3 separate regions of the Homo sapiens genome follow, and regions 1 and 3 are each linked to region 2. Evidence: promoter capture Hi-C in human tissues and cell types (Jung and others, 2019). All regions are on one chromosome and are shown on one strand. The core of a region is centred on a gene start or on the middle of the fragment in contact, and the rest is flanking DNA. Distances in the headings are between cores, read along the strand shown. Region 1 has its middle 53 kb from the start of PPP1R17. Region 2 holds the start of PPP1R17 (protein phosphatase 1 regulatory subunit 17). Region 3 overlaps ITPRID1 (ITPR interacting domain containing 1).

What was found. The method cuts DNA at HindIII sites, captures the fragments that hold promoters and counts their contacts. A contact is called where the count stands out against the background at its distance.
Region 1: a fragment that was not itself captured here is called in contact with the fragment with the promoter of PPP1R17 in region 2 in 2 of the 25 tissues and cell types used here (hippocampus and neural progenitor cells).
Region 3: a fragment that was not itself captured here is called in contact with the fragment with the promoter of PPP1R17 in region 2 in 5 of the 25 tissues and cell types used here (adrenal gland, heart left ventricle, liver and 2 more).

What each region holds. Positions count from the first base shown.
Region 1 is chr7:31,738,293-31,742,234 of GRCh38, reverse strand. It overlaps a transcript of PDE1C not described here. Among named protein-coding and RNA genes, the nearest start is that of PPP1R17, 53 kb to the right of the region's middle. The HindIII fragment of the contact is 9,356 bases long and covers 1-3,942 here.
Region 2 is chr7:31,685,763-31,690,020 of GRCh38, reverse strand. PPP1R17 (protein phosphatase 1 regulatory subunit 17) reads right to left here and starts at 2,806. Exons shown (of 5, transcript NM_006658.5): 1 at 2,715-2,806. It also overlaps a transcript of PDE1C not described here. The HindIII fragment of the contact is 11,578 bases long and covers 1-4,258 here.
Region 3 is chr7:31,647,945-31,652,265 of GRCh38, reverse strand. ITPRID1 (ITPR interacting domain containing 1) reads right to left here. Exons shown (of 15, transcript NM_001257967.3): 13 at 997-1,124; 14 at 216-327. It also overlaps a transcript of PDE1C not described here. Among named protein-coding and RNA genes, the nearest start is that of PPP1R17, 37 kb to the left of the region's middle. RefSeq lists an enhancer at 521-1,079. The HindIII fragment of the contact is 6,446 bases long and covers 1-4,321 here.

The DNA.
Region 1 (3,942 bases), core at 577-3,076, 53 kb before region 2:
CATGAGCAAGTGGAAGTCCGATGGGACGTTTGTTCTTTATTGTTTTCTTACTGGAATGTGCAGGATGCGTGTACTCATTGTCCACAAATGTGTACCAGTCTCATTCTCTTTCTTCATGCCTTTATTCCTGATCTAGAATACCACTGATTCATTCCTTTGTTCAATAATATTGGTCAAATTCCTTTCCTGTTTCAGGTGCTAAGAATGCAGCAGTGACTAAAACACAGTCTTAGGTCTCCGGAGCTCTCATCCAGTGGGCAGATAGTTTTAGGAGCAAATAGCTAGCAAACAATGTGATGAGGGCTATGCCTGAGCTGTGAAAACAGAAGTTGTTAACTCTGGGGAGGCTGCAGGAAGAGAATTGGGGCACATGGGACCTGGTCCCTGCCTCCCTCCCCAGTATCTTCTGCAGCCACAGCCATTTTCCACCCCTTATGCCTTTCATGCCAGTCATACCAAAGCTTGTCTTCATCCCTAGGTAAGCTCATTTCTTCCTGATCCCTATGATGAGCCACATTCTGGGAGAATATGTCTGTAACTGCCTAAAAGGAAGACAAAACTTTCTTGCTACAGGCAGGTAAAATATAGGCTGGAATAAAACCCAGTCACCAGAACCTTGTTAGAAGTCTAAAGAAGATGAAAATGGGTAAAAATAACTGAAAATACATGTGAAAATTAAAGTGAAAAATAAGATACAAAGCAGTTAAAACATAGTAGAATGAAATTTAGAGAAAAGTGAAATAATGTAACAATTTGAGAGATTATATTAGTTAAGGAAAGGAATGAGAAAATTGATAATACTGCACATAATTGAGTGGATAAATTTATTTTAGAATAGGAACAGTTAAAGATTAAAAATATGAAGTTAAAATATGGTAAAGGATTGAAGCTGGATAAGGTAAGGTATATATTATGAAACTTTAGAAAGATGTAAAATTCAGCTAAAACCAGTTAATCTAGTTACCATCACCTTATGTAGACTTTCCAAATTTCTCATAAGTAATAATACTCAGGAAAGATAAAATATAAAGAAAAATAGAAATAAAAAAGGTGAAAAGTCACAGCACCACAAAGCTGAGACTAAAAGATCAAAACAACATTATATTATAAATATCGTTAAACAAATTAGTAAACATAAAATGTACAATATGCAATTCTATTTTTTTTTTTTTTGAGACAGGGTCTTTGTCTGTTGGCCAGGCTGGAGTGCAGTGGCATGATCACTGCAGCCTCAAACTCCTAGACTCAAGAGATCCTCCCACTTCAGCCTCCTGAGTAGCTGGGACTACAGGCATGTACCATCACTCCTGGCTAATTTTTCAGTTTTTTGTAGAGACAGGGTCTTGCTACGTTTCCCAGGCTGGTCTCAAACTCCTGACTTAAAATGATCCTTCTTCCTCAGCCTCCCAAAGTGCTGAGATTACAGATGTAAGCCACCGTGCCTGGCCTGAAAATGCAATCCTTGATGAGATAGTGAGGCATTTTTCCTCAATTAGTACATGAATCCATTGCCATATATTATTTATTGCTAGAATGATATGATGTTTCATTTTTAGCATTGAGAAAACTAGTTCACATAAATAAGGATATGGAAATAGAAGAAGTTTTATTATAGTAATGTTCCTTAAATCTTTGAACTCTCTTTGGGTAATGTGTCAAAAATAAGCACATGGTAATCTAGCATTCTGACAGCTTAAATAGATCTTATTTCAATTTTGTTATAAGTGAAGAATTGGAAACTACTTGAGTTGGAGAAGGATTTATAACCCAGGCATTTGAATCATGCACTTTCTCAATTTTTTAAAGTGCACTAAAAGTCTTACTTAGACTCATCAAATGATTATAAATTAGATATCTATATGTGCCTGTCTGCATGTGTATACATAACATATGTATGTTAGTCATTCACTGCTTGGAAAAAAAGAAACATTAGTTATAACACACCTTTGCCAATATTGTTATTTTTCTTGTGTCATGTTGGAGGGTGGCATAGTGGGTGACTTTGTTTGCAGAATTCCCTAAATAGCAGCAAAGAGCCCATTGCCATCCAAAGGAATCCCATGAGGGCAGCTCAAAGAGAGTGGAAATGCCACATTCTAGCCCTTCAGAGCAAAAGGTGCAAGACATGGGGAGACAAGTGCTAGAGAGGCTTACACAGCCAGTATTTCATGGCATGCCTTCCTTTTGTAGAGTGGGAAAAGGTAAGATAGGAAATGACAGCCTGCATGAACGTGTAGGCCAGTTCTCAGGCAGATCGGTTTTGGGAAAGAGAGAGAAAGTAAAGTCAAAAATTAGGAAACTAAATTATTTAAAGTGTTCTACGTCAATGTGCCCTCTGAAAGTTCATGATCCACATGGTGGGCAAATCCCATTTGCAGACTGCTGTTTGAGACCACCATTTTGGGTGCCTAATTGGTTCTCCTTGGGTGAGGACACTAATTCTAGGGTTTTACATTTTTGTTTAGTTGGGGGAGAGGGCAACACTGACTGAGTGTTCACCAAACTGGTTCCCTTTCCTGCACTGAGAGTGTGCTTCTACGTGACCATAAGGAGGACCTCCACTCGTGCACTGGGCTTCTGAGCACACCTCCATTATTGAACTTATTCTGTAGCTCCATGGCTTGCTAGCTGTGTGACCTTGGACAAATGATCCAATCCTTCAAGTAACCACTTTCTTTGGATTAAGTGCATATCCTAGCAGCCGGAATGATTACATTAGAAAATGCACTAAAGCTCATAACATAGTGCCCGACACATGGTCAGTGCTCAATGAATGATTATTTACATTCCCATCAAGATCACGATGCTTCCAGGAGCCTTTATAAAACAAGGGCATTCCCTCTCACCCATGGCGTAGATTTCTAGGGACCCCATGAAGGCTCTCTTGCACCCTACCCTTTCTATAAATTTTCCTTGAACTGGCTGATGCCTGAGTGAGGCTTTATTCCACTCATATAAAGATGAGATCATCACTAAAATTTGCTCCAGAAGAGCTGGTGTGTGTGTGTGTGTGTGTGTGTGTGTGTGTGTGTGTCTAAAAGTTACTGCTGACGTCAATCACTGACGTTTTAGTGAACAGGAAATCTTCCAGAGTTCTGCAAGAAGAACTCAATAGGTAATCAGACAGCATGAGCAGAAGGAAGTCAAGGATTTGAGGATGGAAACAGGCAGGTGGGGGCATTTATAGGGGTGTAGGATGAGGTACATGCATATGTATATGTGGGGGGCAGGGGTGTGGGGGAAGGGGAATGAAGTCAGGAGGGGAACTGGTATTCTCCAAGGAGAACAAACCCGTCCTGAGCATTTCCTGTGAGAAGGTCTCCATGGCACAGGCTTTCCTGTGCTAGTTCATCACATACTCACCACATCCTGAGGCAGCCATTACCATCCTGGTCTACCTGGGAGAACATGCAGGCTGAGAGTGCTCTGTGCCCCGCTTCAGGTGACACAGGTGGCACCTGGGGATGCTTCTGTTCCAACCCAGGTCTTCCTGAGTCCCAAGTCTTATTTTTTCCTCACCAGCTGGCCACCATCTCCAAGAAGCCCCTGGGCTTGCTGCCCTCCTGGCCCATGGCGGCTTGGTGCTATGGGAATTATGCCCCCTGGGATGGCCTTGCAGAAATGCCTCTCCTAGCTGGGTTGCTTTTCAAGCAGCACCTGTGATATGGCTTGGCAGTGTCTTCACCCAAATCTCACCTTGAATTGCAATAATCCCCACCTGTCAAGAGCAGGGCCAGGTGGCGATAACTGAATCCTGGGGGCAGTTTCCCTTATACTGTTCTTATGGTAGTGAATAAGTCTCGGGAGATCTAATGGTTTTATAAATGGTAGTTCCCCTGCGCAAGCGCTCTTGCCTGCCACCGTGAAGATGTGACTTGCTCCTCATTCACCTACCGCCATGATTGTGAGGCCTCCCCACCCATGCGGAACTGTGAGTCCATT
Region 2 (4,258 bases), core at 1,557-4,056:
TTCGTCACAAAACTGACACATGCTTCCTCCACAGCATAGCTCATCTTGTCTATGGGAGAAACAACACTATTTCAAATCAGTGTGATTTAAAGAATGGTGGTGGTGAACCAGCAAGACTGTTTGCTAAGGGGCTGAGAGACAATTTCCAGATCTGGGATTTTACATTACAAGAATATCCCATGCCGTGCAGGGATGTGTTTTGCTCATGGGGTTAGAAGATACTTTTATCATGAATGATGTCATTACGGACTTCTTAGGAGAAAATTTTCACACAAAGAAAAGAACAAGCAAGTGGAGGGGAAAGACATTTGGAGTTTAGTGTTGGCTTATTGATAATTTTCATAGCCTGTTAGTATAATGACCCCATCTCTCAACTCACTCTCCATTTCTATCCTCAGTGAGAAGGGGCGCTCTTTATGAGTGAGCTGTTTTAAGACATGAGCCGGTCTAATTCTTGACATAGGAAATGGAATATTTCCATTTCCTATTCCTGACTCTACCCACGCCTTCCTCTCTTTAATTCAGTCTCTACCCCAAGCAGGTGTCATAAAGGGATGCTGCACTTGTTGGGCTGCCCAGGGAAGGTTTCATCATCTCCCTGTAACTTGGGAACTTTCTAAGGCACCAGCTCTTTCTTTCATGCCTGCATAGTTGGTCCTCTGCATCTTCAGAATTCAACCAAAAAGCTAGGGCCTCCAGAGAGGCTTGTTGTCTAATACTTCACATTTGGGGGTGTTTTCATAAACTGTGTCTACTACAAAGACTTGTGACCTTTTTAACATCCTCTTTCCACTTATTGGTTCAGTGTGGGCTCTGAATTCTAACACTCACACAGGGACGTGGACTGCCACTGTCATTGCAATATTGGCCACCCACCCTTGTGACAAGCCTGGAGTCAAACGTGCTGTGGAAATCAGGACTGTTTAAATTATATAACAGCTCTAGAGGGGTCTCAAGGAGCACCAGCAGTCACATCCATTATTTCTGCAGCAAAACTATGAATATTCACACTAAGTGACATAAAGACAAACCACAAAAAATTCACATTCTTTCAGGTCAGGCTTTGCTACCAAATGAGTTTGTGTTGAACTTAACAACAAACCTTTTGGTTTTCAAAATGTTTCAGATTTCTTAATTAGAGAATGAAAGAGTATTGATCGAATTACTCTTCTGGTTGTGGTTGTTTGACAGAATGTAGGTATTCAGTGTAGTATGCAAGAGACCAAGAGATATGATTTCAGGGTTTGAGAAAGGATTTCAGGATTTCAGATTTTAAACTCTTGTAACTTCCTCTTACTAATCCTTACCTTCCTTTTCACAAGGGACAAAACCTTTCTTTTTACAGAGAGATACTTGTAAATGCAAATACCACTAAGAGCAGCAATATGTAAATTGATGTCACAATACACAGGGATTGTTAATGACAAAGGTCACCTTCTCTTTTGAGAACAGGAACTGAAAGGGGGAAGGAACTGGGTGCCAGAAAAGGGACCCCACTATATTGCAGAAAGGCAGGCACACCAGCGGAGCTGAAACACATTAGTTGGTTCAGTGTGTGGTCAGAAGCTGGTCTGGATTTTTTGTCTTTTCTCTTATCATTGAGCGGTTTTCTCAGTTGGATGTGAGAATATGCGGTTTAAATTATGGGAAGAAAATTCCTCTCAACTTTAAGATTGGATGCTGTGAGTCAATATAAGGTAGAAGCCAACGTTTGGCTGCTTGTACCACTCTCTAGCTGGGTGAACTTGGGACAGTTATCTGTTCTCTCAAAAATTTAGTTTTCAAATCTGTTAAATGGGGGAAGATAGTGGCTCTTCTCCAGGGTTGTTGAGAGTATTACCCATAGAATGTGCATGGAGTCCCGAGCCCAGGTCCTACACACTGATATTTTCGTGAGTGTGAGGGACCTTCTTGGATCTTTCAGTCCTCCATTTGTGATTATATGTCTATCTAAATTGATCTATCAGAATTATCTCTTTATCCCATCTCTGGCCTTCTCTGAAGCTGGTAATGAGATGAGAATAGTTCAAGACAAAAACCAACCCATTTCTAAATCTTGGGAACATAATAGAACTGATTCTCAGAAGCGAGTTGACACTTAGCTTACCATACGGTATTCTGAAGAATATCCCCCAAAGTAATCAGGTCTTGATTTACTGGATGGAATAAAAGGGTAGAAGGTTGTATCCACAGCCTATGTGGTATCTCGTTAATGCACCCTCTGGCTATGTAAAATACATATTCATTGTCAAACCTCTTTTTAACCAGAGGATTGAATTCAGGTCAAAAAGTACCGTCTTTTAAAATCAGATTTGTTCATTTAGAAAACCTAAATTGGCAGTATTCCTGGAGGAGAGACTGACTTAAAGTAGGGCATGGAGAATGTGTTTTGAGAAGCATACTTTCTGTACTTTCCCCAGCCTTGGAAGATAAACCTCTCTATCCTGTGTGAATATGCAGATACACCAACTTCATCTTGAAACTTTGCAAATGAGTTTGTGAGGGTTCAGTCTTTTACAGAACTCCATTCCCTCCCTTGGAAGAATGACTTGAAAGTGGTAACTTTTTCTGCTGTCCACTCGGCCCCAGCTTAGCCTTGCTCCATAAAGCACAACCCCGTGCCACCAGCTACAGCCTTCTTTGTCCCAGTAACTGACTGGAAACTTGCTTTTCTCACCACAAAAGTTCTTGGAGTAAAAATCTGAAGCACTTACCAATCAGCGCAGATGCAGGGAAGCGAAGGCGAGAGACAGGGAGGGCGTGTGTGCTCACCGAGGCTGGGCCTGGCTCCTCTGCGGCAGTGGCTGCTGCTGGCCGGCTCCAGCTCCTCTTATCTAGGGACCAGCTGCTGCTGTTGCCATGGGGATGCTCTGTTTCACAGGCACCAGGGCAAGGGGGATGGAGAAGGAAAGAGGACTAACATCTCCATCGCTGCTCTCCACGGCAATCATTGTACATTACAAAAGTACAGTATAGAGTCGTGCTTTGAGTTTCCGGTGTGCACACCAGAGAAATTCAGACAAACCAGCTACATCATTGAATTCCCATGCGATAGATTTTTTTTGGCCTGATTTTGTAAATATGGAAACTGAGGCACAAGAAGTTAAGTGATATGCCCAAGAGAGGCCACAGCTAATTTCGACTCTCAAAGCTATTTAAGTTTAAATCCAGAGTACTTTCAATCACTATTGCTGCTTCTCAAAGTACTATCATGAGGAGGAAGAGAAGGGTAGCTACTGCTAACATTTATGTAAGGCTACCAAAATGCCAGACACTCTTCTAGAGACTTCACACATATCTACTTACTTAACCCTCAGGCCAACCTTGTGAGATGAGCTACAGTCATCATCCCATTTTATTGATGAGGAAGCTGGGGCTCAAGAGTTACCAAATCATCTGACCAAGGTCTCCCCACATGGTGAAGCTAGGGTTTGAATGGGGTAATGAAATGCTAGGGTCCACGCTTGTAACCACTTTGCAATACCTCTCAGCAAAGAGAGCATTTCAAACAGCACATAGCAAAGAAAGCAGCCCCCAACTCTATAGGTTATAGTGTGCAGGCCAGAAAAAATTTCCTCCTTCAAAGGAACAAAGCCAAATGTACCAATATTAGGAATACGTAGGCACTCAAGAGTGGATGTTTAAGCAAGGTGGGAGAGGCGGGAGACATGCTGTCTTTTGGAGAGGAAGGTTCTATGTTTTGGGTCTGCTCACTGGAGGAGAGCCCACTGGGGTTTGGAGGAGCAGCAGTTTTGACTCCAAAGCAGGAAGGCCAGTCTGGGAGATCAGGTAGGTATCAGGACCCACTAGAAGGGCTCCAGACCCCCTGATAGCAGCCAATGGACCACCCAGTGATGCCCAAGAAATATGTTCTCACAGAAGATACGTGAGCACCATCCACACATCCATATTTTTTCCAGTCTTACCTGAGGTTCCCTGCAGAGCAGGTCCCTGGCAACCCCTTGGTTTCAACTGCCTGCTTGCCACTGGCAATGTGTTTGTTGGTGCCTCCCTCCCACTTGCCAGGATCCCAAATAACAGGGCTAGAACCATAGTAAACTCACCAAGAGGTTGACTCCTAGGGTTAGACTTTTGCCATGGTAACAGATAAGCAGAGAATGGACTTCTTTGCCTGTTCCATTTTGTGTTGATCCTTATTGGGACCTCCTGGGAAGAGATGAGGGTTGCTGAAAGGTGATGCTCTTGTCTAGGAAGGGAAGGCCCTAGATGTTGAGGGACAGGGCCTAGAAGCAGGTCT
Region 3 (4,321 bases), core at 1,665-4,164, 38 kb after region 2:
ATTGGTATGACAGGTGAACTGAATTCTGATACAGAATCACCATCAGCTGGCTGTGTACCCTTGAGCAAACCAAAGTACTTCTCTGTATACTTAAAATGAAGGTGTTGGCATGTAAACCTAGATTCTGAAATGATTGCACAATCAAGTTTCTCATTTAATGCACCTCTCCTGTGGTAGGCTGGATATAGTCAAACTCCACACCCCATCACCCATACCAGTAAAATCCCTTCTCTGATTTGCTGAGCCCGGTCTCCTAACTGAAATTCCAACTCTGCCACCTGCTGCCTCAGGGCCTCACGTAACGTTTGCAGTTGCTCGGCCTCCTCCCTGCAAGTAAATAATAGAAAATAACCAAATTTAACAATCCTTCCCAGGTGCAATCTTCCATTGTCACCTCATAATATAGGTTCTTCCTTTGCAATTTCTTAAAAGAGAATGTCATCTTTATTTGTGTCAGCTGGAGACATTACTAAGGTTGTCTTCTTTAAAAAAAAAAAACAACTTTATTGCAGTATAATATAGTTCCCCTATTTTAAGAGCACAATTTAATAATTTTTAATAAATTTACCAAATTGTGTAATCATCACCACTATTCAGTTTTAAAACACTTCTATTTCCCCAAGAAAAACCCGTATGCCTCTCCCTTTACAGTTAAACCTGATTTCCATCCCCAGCCCCAATGCAGATTTTCAAAACTCTCATAACTCCCACATTTGCATTTGCACGAGCCCCATCCCATTGATTAAAGACATCCTGCTGTCAATGCCCCTGACTGCCTGTCTTTTGACCTTCTCCAAGAATAAGTATTGCTATCTAGCAAATGGCTCTCACAGACTCCCACTGAGAAAGCAAGAACAAGACCAAGAAAGCAAAGGAAAAGCTGGCCGGTTTCTCATTAGCTCTGCTCCAGGGTGCTCCTCTGTTCTGCCCTGATTATCTTCCTTGCTCCAGGTGTGTGGGCTGGTACTTACTTTTATGGCTCCCTTAGGTAATTACCTTTCCTCCTCTGACATGTCCCTGGAAAAGAGGGCCTGCTGTCCCATAAGGTGCTGTTCAATTTCTTCTAAATACTCCCGGAAACTTTGGCATATCGTCTTCATGGCTTCCATCTCATGGACTGTGCACTGAGAACAATGAGAAAGAACTGAGAAGAAAGTCCTCTCTGATCCTCTGCAAGAGCTCACCATGGTGGAGCCTGTCTTCCCATTTGGGATCCCTTTTTTCGCAAACAGGCCCTACTGCTAATATAAGGGGGAGGGAATAGGAAGAGCCCAATATTTGGGTTCACAAAACAACTAGTGACAGTGCTCATCTGCAACAGAAGGGCAGCTGTTGTTGGGTGGCCTTTGGGTGACAATCATTGTGTCCCAGAGGCTGGAAGGCAGTCTGGAGGCCTAGGTGACATAGGGATGCAAGGATGTAGGTAGAAGAGAGGAGGGGAAGTGCCAGAGTAAGGGTTTGTGAGAAATTGAGTCTGTTTAATCTTGTTTAACTTTGTTGCTGGGTACTGCCTCACTCTGAGTATCAATAACATTGAACACATCTGTTCAGCTGGTATGTGTTTGATTAAAGAAAATCTGCTTAGAATAATGTTTATTAGTCTTAGTCCTGCTTAGTCACAGTCCTGGAGGTTGGAATCTGCAGGATCAGCTTCATCCACCTAACAAGCCCACCCTGAGGAAGGCAGGCAAAGGTTAGGCATCCTGTCATCTCCAGGAGTTGGAATCTAGAATTGAACTTTGTCTACGCTTTTAATCCTTCCCATTGCTCCTGATGTAGTCATCGTTTAACTCTTACTTTCTCTCTCAGGCTGTGCCTTTGCCTTGGTTTTCTCATTTAAATATATTCCTGCAGCTCCTGAGAACTTTGGAACTCTCCACTAACAGACTTGACCACCCTCCAGTCTGCCTCCCAGCAGCACAAGGCTGTGTCCCTGGGATGACCTTAACCTCCCCATCCCCCAATAAAAAGCCTGACTGAGAAATCTAAAGGCTGCCAGGAAAATTTACTGTTTGCTTTCGCCAACACCTGACATAGGCCCTTTCTAAGAGTATTTATTAAATGTTGATTATAATTGTAAATATGTATTTCTTACAACTCACAAGTGTCTCTCTCAAGGACCTGAGAGCCACTCCTTTGAAATGTAATCATCTAGAAGGTTTGGGCCTCTGTCCCCGGTCTCTAGGAGGGCAGAATCCTAACTTCAGTTACTGCTGGCTCACAAACACAGTTGGTCTAATGGCATTGACATGGACCAATTCTTTGTGATTTTTCACTTTTCTGACTCTACTGAGCCCCTACTCTTCACCCTCCCTTATTCTCTCTTTAGAATGCCCAAATCACCTCTGCACAAATTGGAGTGGAGCTCAGCTCTTTCCCCTGCTGTCAGTAGTTGCTGAACACAATCTGTTTTCATGGCTTTAACTAAAGCTATTTACCTTTGGCACCTCCAAGCCCAGTCCATTTGCCGGCACTCTGATGACTTGCTGAGTTCTTACCAGCTATCCCCTTTGTTTTGCATCCTGGGTTGGATCATGCTTTGAAATCCATGACCCAGAACTCCAGGGCCACTAACCATTTGACTTTGAGTAATATTAATGCTTGTTAGGCCCTAAAGCCATCTCTATCAGACCCACAGGCTTGGACCCCTTCCCAAAATCAGTGTAGCAGAGGCTGCTAGTTGACTACTCACAATCTTTCTCTCCTTTATTCTTGTTAACAAGAATACTTTAGAGGCATCCATGTGTCTAGCTAAAAAATTACATTTCCCAGCATTCCTTGTAGAGACAATGGCCAGTGAGCTGGGAACAGAGAGCATGCTGTGGGGCTTCTGTGGTGTGCTTTAAAGGAAACTGATCTTGCAGGCTGGCTGTTTTGAAGCTTCTCTTCTTCCTCCTTCCATGGAGACCAACTTTACAGCTAGGTGGACTCCTCTAGCCCTGTTTCTAGGAAGTCTGAGATTTCTTACCCTTCCTCTCTAAACTACATGGCCAACATCCTGGCAGCCGGATGGCTATTTTTACCAGAATTGTCATAATGGAAATACTTTCCTAAGAGTAATGTTTTTATATTGAAAACTCTCCATATTTTGGTTTTGGAGTTTGGTTTTGATTCTATCCTCTCGCTTTTATACTGAATAACGTATTTTGCATAGTAAAGCTCTTGCATCAATTTTGCAATTTTGCAATTACTCTTGCATCAATGTGAGTGAATTTGAAACACTTAGGGAATCTCTGAAGTGATACTGATGTTGGCAGGAATGCTAGATTATGGCTCTTAAGACCAGAAAAGATCTTGTAGACCATGAAGGGCATCTGTTATAGATACGTGTTCTGACATAGAATGGCTAGTTAACTTGTCTGTGGTCAAAAAATGGCAGTAAGATTTCGAACCCATCTCTTGTTTCATTTCTTTTCTTCTAAGATCTGAGTCACAGCAGGGACCACAGTATAGCTGAACACAAGGATAAGTTGCTTGTCCCTTAGCAGCGAGCTGTTTGAGTGGTTCTAGTAGCTTCCCATCAGGTAACCAAGACTTCCCAACTGGTTCAAATTCACTTCAAAGTTCTGGGGACAGTGACGCCAGGATCATGGAAGTGTAGTGCTCAAATAGGCTGAACATCATAAACATTGAATTTTATGCTCATGTAGTTATTTTGGGGTAGCCTTTTGTGATTGAAAGGTATAAGACTGGGGTGTTTTGGTTTGGGAATAACTGATGGAGTGTTTGCTCTCTGAGAATGGTGGAGGGATGTGGAAGATTCTGAAATGCTGCCATCTTCTGGTTATTTGGAAACATGGAAAAACACATTTTAGCCCTAGAATAAGTATAGAAATGATTTCATAATAAAGAAAACTGTAGGTGAGAAAAAAAATAAATAAAAACCCTCAAAAATAGAGTGTTTTGAACATTTCTTCTTTTTCTTCTTCTTCTTTTTCTTACAATATAAAGGCTTGATTATAACCCAAATACCAAATGCAAGTTCTGCTCTACTGACCCAAACCCATTGAAACAAACTTTAACTTCAATGGTAAGAGCACCATCACCAAAAGACAATGAATTTTCACTTTGAATATGCTCATATTACTTTTTCTTATTTGTGTACTTTTACTTTTCTCTAAAACTAAATCATAAACAATATGGAAGCACTTCTAATATTCAGAAATCTTATTTCTGATAGATCTCATTTTCTTTTCTGGAATTTTTTTTGAATTAACACTTTTTAAAATTAACAAATTATCCTGAAGAATTTACCTATATATAACAATTTAGTTATACCAACAAACCATTTTTTTGAATTAACAAATTATTGCAAATAACT